2 separate regions of the Homo sapiens genome follow, and region 1 is linked to region 2. The links are contacts of gene promoters, found by promoter capture Hi-C in blood cells and fetal thymus (Javierre and others, 2016). All regions are on one chromosome and are shown on one strand. The core of a region is centred on a gene start or on the middle of the fragment in contact, and the rest is flanking DNA. Distances in the headings are between cores, read along the strand shown. Region 1 has its middle 52 kb from the start of LINC02687. Region 2 holds the start of CHST1 (carbohydrate sulfotransferase 1).

Region 1 (4,121 bases), core at 750-3,249, 240 kb after region 2:
TGAAGGGGCAACTCAGAGTCCAACAGTCCAGGATGCTTTTAAACTCTTCCCCCAACCAGAAGGAGGGGCTCTGGACTTCTAGAGTGATGGTGATAGTAGCACAGAAGAGAGGACCGTATCCCTGACCAAGATCAGACCTGCAAGAACCAACCTGAACCCTCTCATTCAGTAGAACAGCCGTGGGACATAAGCAATAACATTGTGTGGTCAGTGACTCCACAGGCTGCAGCGTTGCTAAATATCCTGGGCCCACCTCCTCCCCTCATTTCTCCCAGCTGGGCTCAAACAGCCTCCTCAGATTCCTCAGCAGAGTTCCTCTTACCCACCAACATGCACTCAGTAATCCTCAAAAAACCATCATTGTCAGCATGGATGATGCCCCCTACTAATCAGCCCAGCCAACTGCTTCAGATCACCTTGACCTGTGGGCACATGAATTCCAAGACCTGGTCTGGCTCCTGGGAAGCCCCCCTTCCCAATGTCTCCCCCATCTCACTGAGTGATAGTCTCTTCTTGGCTTCTGTCCATCCTGGCTCGACCACATTTATTAGCTGTGGGGTCCTAGGTAAGTCATTAACTCCTCTGAACCTCTATTTCCCCATCCCCAGAAGGGGACAATTCTGCTTGCCTTACAGAGTCACTTGAGGATGTAATGAGCTGCCATTTAGAAGGCTCCCAGAACAGAGCATGGCAACAGGAGACTCTTGGCAGTCACTGGTTCCCTATAGTGTCTTCCCTTCCAAATTGCCAAAAGCAAGTGGCTTCCACTTGGCCCTGCTGGTGTCCCTCTTCTGGTTTCTAGGCAGGGCAATCCTGAAGGCCCCTCCACCCCACACATAGGCCCCTTCACTGTAAGTGGGATGAGAACTGAGCCAGACCCCACACAAGTGTCACCAGGACCTGTGCAGAGAAACTCATCAATTCCTACCTCTTTGCACAGTGAGGGACCTCAATCTCGTCCCTGCTGCCTCCCCCCGGGAAGAAAGACTGGGTCATGGAAGAATACCCAGGGGAGAGCGATGTTTGGGCAGCACCTAAAACCATCTTGCTCTGAGCCCCAGAAAAAGCCCCGGAGAGGCCTCCAACTACCGCTCCAGTGGCTGAAATTTCTCCTCTGCAGAAATAGGAATCACAAACAAAACCAGAACAGGAATACTTTCAAAACTCAGAGAACGAAATGTTCAGAACAGAGCGCAAAGCAGGTCCTGCTCCATGGAATGGGAAAGGAAAGTGCTATTCCTTTTTTAAAATTTTCTCCAAGCAAAACATAAGCAGTTTGGATTTCCCAGGCTTGGCATCCTGAACAGTCAGTGGAGTGTCTGCCTCTGCCACCTGCCACCTTAAAGGGTCCAAAAGACACAAAACTCAACAGGGTGATTTCCCAGTTCCCAGGACAGCCCCTCAGACTTTGTTCTCACACTGACAGATCCATTCTGTCCCGGTGGCAGTGCAGTGAGAAAGGGTAACGAGATTCTTTTTCTCATTTTGAACAGTTGACCAATAGAGGCTCAGGGAGGCAAAGTGACTTGCTCCTGGTGATCTGGCTAGTGAGTGCTGGGCTGGGATTTGAACCCATCACCACCAACTGGTAACTTTCAAATTGCATCCTTGGAGTTTTGGGGTCTAGGGGGAGGGAGAGGAGAAGGAGTTGCAGGGAAGAAGAGCAACCAGGTGTCAGGCTTCTTCTACTTCTCTTTCCTCTCGCTCGCTATAGTGATCACATACACAAAGAAGAACCCTTGAGGCCTGTCTGGAAAGCAAGAGGGATGGGCTGGGAGAAAGCTGGAGATATTCACACACGGGTTAATTTCTGTTCCTGTCACACATTAGGGCTATTTGTAACTGTTGGATATAAATTGGCCTCCACATAAGATTTCACTTGAAGAAGGGGATAAACAGCTTAAAAATAATTGAAAATCAGTGCACCCAGCCAAGTCTGTGGCTTGTGCCTACTGGGTGGGTTTGTGATGATGTGTGTTTTCTCTGCCATGGTGTACAGTGAAAACTCTCAAGTCTCCAAGAGGCTGCACAGTGTCAAATGCCAGGCATAATTGGGGTAGGGTGGGGGTGGGGAGGGAAAGGGAATGCCTCTGCTGAATTTGAATTAGAAACTTTAGCTATTATAAAATGGCAACAGTCCCGTTGGTACTGGCAACACTCAAGTGGCCACCTCCCACGACAGAGCTCTGGGGAAGGTTTTGGTCCTTGTAAAGTTTGCCCCTTGGTCTGAGAGGCGTGACTCTTCAGGCAGGGTAGCTGTTGATCCCATGCCAGAGTGTCTGACCTCCCGGCTGGGCTAAGAGGAGGAGACTGGTGCCAGCTAGCACTGAGCCTTCAAGCCCCGACCCTCAGGCATTCAATAACGGGAATAACGGGGTTTTCCCCCATCTAAGCAGAAAACGTCAGACTCCTTGGGCACATTGGGTCAGCCTTGGGCAGATGGTCTGGCTGGGCAACTTCAGAGGGAGGCGGAAGTTTAAGGAAGTCTCTGAAGTCGCTCACACATCTGCAGAGGCTAAAACAGCAATTTCCTTTTGGTGGCTGGACATGGTGTTCCCAGAGGAACACGTGGCCCCCAGGTTCTCGTGGGCAGCCCCTGTTGTCCCCGATCTTTTCTTCTGCTGTTTGGCCTGATCAGAGCCAGAACAAACCTGCCCAAGAGCTGACGGTTCACACAGCAACAGATGCTGCCCAGCCCCCACCAAGGGCCAGGGCCACCAAGATGAATAAGATATAGCTGTGCCCTTGAGGAGCAGGGAGCATGCCAAGAATCCTTGCTTCATCACCAAGTGGGTTCCGGAAGTAATGACCATAGTAGCCACTGTAATTTATTGAGAGCTTACTGTGTGCCAAGCACTCTACATACATTACTTCATTGTATTACCATTATGAGCCACTGGAAAGTGAATCCTGTTTCCAGATCCATTTAACAGATGAGAAGACTGAGGTTCAGAGAGGTTAAGCCAAACATTAAGTGCCATAGGAGAGACTTGAACCCAAGCCAGATGCCTAAGCCTTTATCCTTGACCAAGCTCTGCTGCCCATACCCAGTGTGTCTGGAGTAAGTGGGACCCCAGCCCCACCAAATCTATATTCCAGGGTCCTTGCCTTAGTTTCTCTACACCATACATTCTCAGTGGGGACGATATTGCCCCCTAACACAGCAACAATTTGTTTTCTGTGTCGGGGAACAGAACAAAAAATATTACTTGTTTTACATATAAAGCATACATACAGTATATAACAGATATAGAGCTTACCTGTAATATTAAAAGTTTATGGGGAGTGCAATTAGGAGCAAGTGTCTGGTGCATAGTAGGTGTTCAGGAAACAGCCATCCCCTGCTTCACTGCCTGCTGGAGCCACACATGAATTGGTCTCAATGGGAGCTTTTGTGTATAGGCCTCAGTCTGCCTGGGCCCAACTCCACCCTCAGGCTTTTGGCCCTGGCAGGCTCCATGCCCTAGTCAGCATCCGATAGCACCCAAGCTCACCCTGAACATCCCTGGTGCCTCCTTGGAGGCTCCCGCTCCCCAGAGTTGCCTCCTGGGACTTGTTATAGGTTAAACAGGTAAAGGCCTAGCTCGGCTCAAATGAAACTTGAACACTTCGGGTCGTTGTTGTCAATTTTCCCAACACAGGGAAAAAGGTAATTGTCAATTAACGAGCCCATCAACTGAGGCAGGAGGAAAATCAATAACATGGACCAATACAGAGCTTTCTAATGCCAGTCAGGAATCCAGGAGCGGGAGCCTTTCAAACAGGTACATGGAGTAATTGGCTTTTCCCTTGTGACCCATCCTGCGGACTCTACAACTCTCCAATTAACATGTACCGTTGACAGGCACACAATTATTTGGGTTCACTGTGCCCCAGCCAGTGTTTGTTCAATCAAAACTTGCAAACACGTGGAAAGTGCACAGAATAGCAAATGCAGGGTGTCTCTAGGGGAAGCCAAGTAGTGAATGGGTCTTAAAGGAACCTTGGATTTGACTTCTGTTTCAGAGATCTGCCCTGAGTCTCAGCTCAGATGCTGGCTCCACACCCCTGTTCTGGCCAGCCCCTGACTGGACCTGTCTCCATCCTCATGGGGGAACTCAGAGGAGTCTGCCCATGGCTTG
Region 2 (4,084 bases), core at 981-3,480:
CTGAGAGCGGGTCTTTTGTCTATTTTTAGAGTTTAAATGTTCTTCAAAAATTTCCCAAATTCCACTCTGTCTTTACATTACAACCACACCAATCTTTTCATGTCAGCCAGATGTACTTTTCCCTCCTCTCTACCCGAAATACACCAGAATTTGAAAAATGAGGCGCTGGATCTGGTAGTGCAAGATAGAGAAAGCTTTCTCTAAACCCTGACTATTCTCGTCAGCCTGAAAACTTGGGGAGGGATTAACTCTGGGTGAAAAGGAAGGTTCTGATGGCTCAGCCCAAGGCTATTAGAGCTTGGTTTTTTATAGAGGGACAGTCACGATTTGGAAACATGAAGTCTTAGCTTTTGGAAGGTCAGCACCACTCTTGTTAGGCATCTCAGTACGCTGCCACTCCCTGGGTGGGGGTGGGGAGGGGGAAGGCAGGTGGAGAAACAGACTTGGTAGCCTTGGAGTCAGGACTGAGGACTGACTCTGCCATCCCAGGTGCTGTGGCTACAGGAATGCGCACTGGAAGGTGCTGTTAGCCCCTCCAGCTTGATGGGGGTGGAGATGGGGGAGAGGAGTTTATAGTTATGAGTTTGCAATTGTGACCAAGATAAATGACCATTTGGTCTAGTGGGACCCTTGGGGCAAGGGCCTTCATACCATCTGCTCTGGGTGGAGAGAGGGAGACCTTCTTGATGACCCGAGAGCCCAGTCCTCCAGGGAAGTGCAGCTGTCATGTTCTCCTCTTGGCGAGTGAGTGAATGTTTGTTCCTGGCTACCCTGAACGCAACAATGTGCAATTATTAAGTACTCACCCCCTTGCCAGACACTGCTGAATGCTCTACACACATTACCATCCAGTGTTCACAACACCCCTACAGGGTGAGGATCAGTACCTCTGTCTTCTGGATGAGGAAACTGAGCCGCAGAGAGGCTGATCACTCACACAAAGTCACCCAGCAAACACACAGCAGGTTCCTCTGACCCAGGAAACTGCTGTGCTAACCATTCTGCTGTGCTTCACTGTGTGGGATGGAGGCAGCAGCTGCTTGCCCATACATCGGGGACGAGGCTTTCCCAGAATGCCTGGAGTTTTCAAGCCATCCACTGCTCTCTGCGCCCCAGTCCAGGAGTGATGGAGAGCTATAGTCGGGAATCAGAGATTCCAGGTGGAGATGAAGGCTGACTGTTCCTCTGCTTCAGAAATAACCATTTGGTCAGAACTGAGGAGCATCAGAGGTTCAGCCAGACAAAGCACCTTCCTAGTCTCCAGATGAGGAAACAGGCCACTGGGGTGGGCAGCCTCAGTCATGTCAGATGTGGTGGCAGAGCTGGGACTCCTGGCCGTCCTCTCCAGCCCAGGGGCCACTGATCACATGATATTGCTCTGCTCATGCACCCTGCTTCTCCTCCACTCCACTCTGAGAGGTTCATCAACCAGTCCCTGGTGCCCATGAAGGCCAGGCCTGTGGAAGATGCTCAGTCAATATTTGTGCAGAGGATACAGGCCCAAGGTGCTCGGCTGGCCAGCTCTGTCCCCATCCCTCATCCATAAAAGCAGTGGTGGCTCCAGATTGCCACCTAGAAAGCCAGGGGCAGTCTGGTAGGAAGAAGGTGGGCAGTGTGGAGGAGCGGCCTAGAAGACGGTCAGCCAGCAAACCCACTCTAAGGTCCCATTAAGACACCCCCTGACCCTGCCCAAGAGGGACAACTGCAGCGGGGACAAATGATTCATCCCCACACTTGAGAAGCAGAGGGGCGGGGAAGGAGGAAAGGCTAGGGGTGTGTGTCAGGGTATTGCACACAGAGATGGTTGGCTTCAGTTCTGGGTTCTGAAGTCCCTCTGTGCCGCTGGCTGGGCAAGAGGTAAAGGACAGCTGGGCCAGGGGCCAGGCTGGGACTCCAGCAGGACTTCCGCGGCGAGGGGCGCTGGGGGGGCGAAAGGCTTTGGCGGCCCGGCCAGCAGCGCCCTCGGGGGTAAGGGGAAGGGAGGCTACGCGGAGAGGTGCCAGAGACAGCCGGTGCCCTTGCCCGCCGGCCGCCCGAAGTCCGGGTGGTGGGCGTGGCTGCCCCCGGCGGGTGGGTGGGGGCGGGCTCCGGAGCCTGGCTGCGGAGTGGGTGTCCAGGGCGCTCGCGGCTGGGGCGGCGCGGGGGGCGGGAAGGCGCGCGCCGAAGGGGTGGGGAGGAGAAGGGGCGGGCGGCTCGGGGGTGGAGCCGGGACCGCAGCGCCTGCCGCTCGCTCGGAGCTGTAGCCGCCGCTGCCGCCGCTGCTCTTGGCTCGGGGACGCGGGCGGGCGCTCCGAGAGGCTCTGGTGCCTGCGGCTGCTGCTCTCCTCCGGCGCCCGGGGCTGCGGCGCTCCGGGTCCCGGCCCCTGTCCCGGCATCTCTCGGGTCCCTGAGCCCCGGCCCCGGGTCCCGCGTCCGGCCGGAGAGAACGCACTCAGCTGCTCGAGCCGCCCCGGGCTCGCGCCCCCGGGCCATGAAGAGGGGCCCGTGAGGCGCGCGCGGAGTCGGAGGAAGAGGAGGGAGGAGGGAGGCCGAGGAGGAGGGCGCGGGAGGCGGAGGATGCCGCCGCGGCTGCTGCCGCCGCCGCCACCCGCGGGTCCCCGGCGACCCTGACTCCAGACCCGAGGATGGAGCCGGCGCTGGGCGCTGCAGCTGCTCCCGGCGCGTCCCCGACCAGGTATTGGCCGGGCCCCGCGGGCTCCGGGGCGGGCGGGAGCGGACACTCCGCCGCAGCAGCCGGGAGGGGCGCGGGCGCGGTGGGAGACGCCCCTCCGCTCGGGGACAGCAGCTACCGGCGGTGAGCGGAGGGGTGGCGGCGGCGAGGAACGGCGGCGTGTTGGGCGCAGGAAGGGGCTGCCGGGGCTGGTGGCCGGTGAGCGCCGCGATCACCTCAGCCCTCCCTGCCCCCATTCGAGGAGGGCAGCAAACTTGAGACGCGCGGTGGCCCCCGAGGCGCTTGGCTCCCCTCCGCTGCGGAGCGCACTCAGGGGCTGCTCCGGGCTCACCGTCCCACGACCCGCCTGGCTCGGGTCTGCGGAGGCGCCTTGAGACCCTGAGGTCCCCGCGCCCGCACCAACTTTCCAAACCCAGCTGCACCCGGAGGCGGGGGCGCCGCTCCCTGCTTCCTGCTCCCAGCCCTGGCCCGGCCTCCGCACCCAGACCGCTGCGATGAGCTGGGCCCCTGTGGGGCCGGAGCCGCCGGATGGTGCAGAGCCCACCACGGAAAGCCGGAACAACCCTCCCGCTCTTCTCTGGGTAGGACCCGGGGATCAGCCCCTCCCAGGCTCCAGGGACCCAGTGCTGGCTTTCGCGGTAACAGCCCAGAGTAACCCTAGCTGGGATGCTGGGCGTTAAAAGGCCAGGCTGCCTGAGGAAGGTAAGACCCGGGGGTCGTCCTGGAGTGGCACCTTGGCCTGATTTCAGGTGTGCCCCCTCCCCCACCCCGGGCCTGCCCTTTCACAGGACTGCCTTCCTCAGCTCTGGGGCCGGCTTCCTCTTGGTGGACTTAAAACTGCTCTTCGGCAGCGGACTCCCTAGGAAGGGCCACTCCTAGGGTCCAGGTGCCTGAAGACGGGCTTGGGCCGGCCATTGACAGGGAGCTGGAGGCTGGGGCAGGGGAGGTGGCTGTCCAGTCAAGGACAGAAATTCAGTCCAGCAACTTCTGGAGGGGTGGGAGGAGCTGGGGGCAGGCTTGGGCGCAGGAGTCAGGCACCCTGGCTGGGAGGAAGCTGCTTTGACCAGCACAGGGACGTCAGAGGCAAGCAGGTGGGAACGAGTGGGCCAGGTGTCTACCTCCAGAGGTTCCTCAGCCCCTTGCAGTGGGGCCTGCTGTCTCAGGCAGAGACCTTACCTGGGCAGGCAGTTCCCAGGCTCCTGTCCTCAGCAGTGGGGACACTTCCAGGCATCATGATGACCCTGTTTCTTTTTCAAAGTGCTTTCATCGTCATGACTCACACATCACATTCACCAGGGAGGTATCAGGCTTCCAACCTATTCAATTCCCCTCCCTACCGGGTCTTTAGGGAGCTGCTGGGGAAAGGAATGGGTGGATTTGCCCTTGAGCCTTGAACCCCTGCAGGAGGCCAGG

The links. The method cuts DNA at HindIII sites, captures the fragments that hold promoters and counts their contacts. A CHiCAGO score of 5 or more calls a contact.
Region 1: a contact is called between a fragment that was not itself captured here and the fragment with the promoter of CHST1 in region 2, in 2 of 17 cell types (M1 macrophages and M2 macrophages). The highest score is 5.3, in M1 macrophages.

Annotation. Positions count from the first base shown.
Region 1 is chr11:45,421,794-45,425,914 of GRCh38, reverse strand. No RefSeq gene overlaps it. Among named protein-coding and RNA genes, the nearest start is that of LINC02687, 52 kb to the right of the region's middle. RefSeq lists an enhancer at 2,505-3,005. The HindIII fragment of the contact is 5,858 bases long and covers 1-4,121 here.
Region 2 is chr11:45,663,768-45,667,851 of GRCh38, reverse strand. It overlaps CHST1 (carbohydrate sulfotransferase 1), which reads left to right and starts at 2,230. Exons shown (of 4, transcript NM_003654.6): 1 at 2,230-2,674. The HindIII fragment of the contact is 4,208 bases long and covers 197-4,084 here.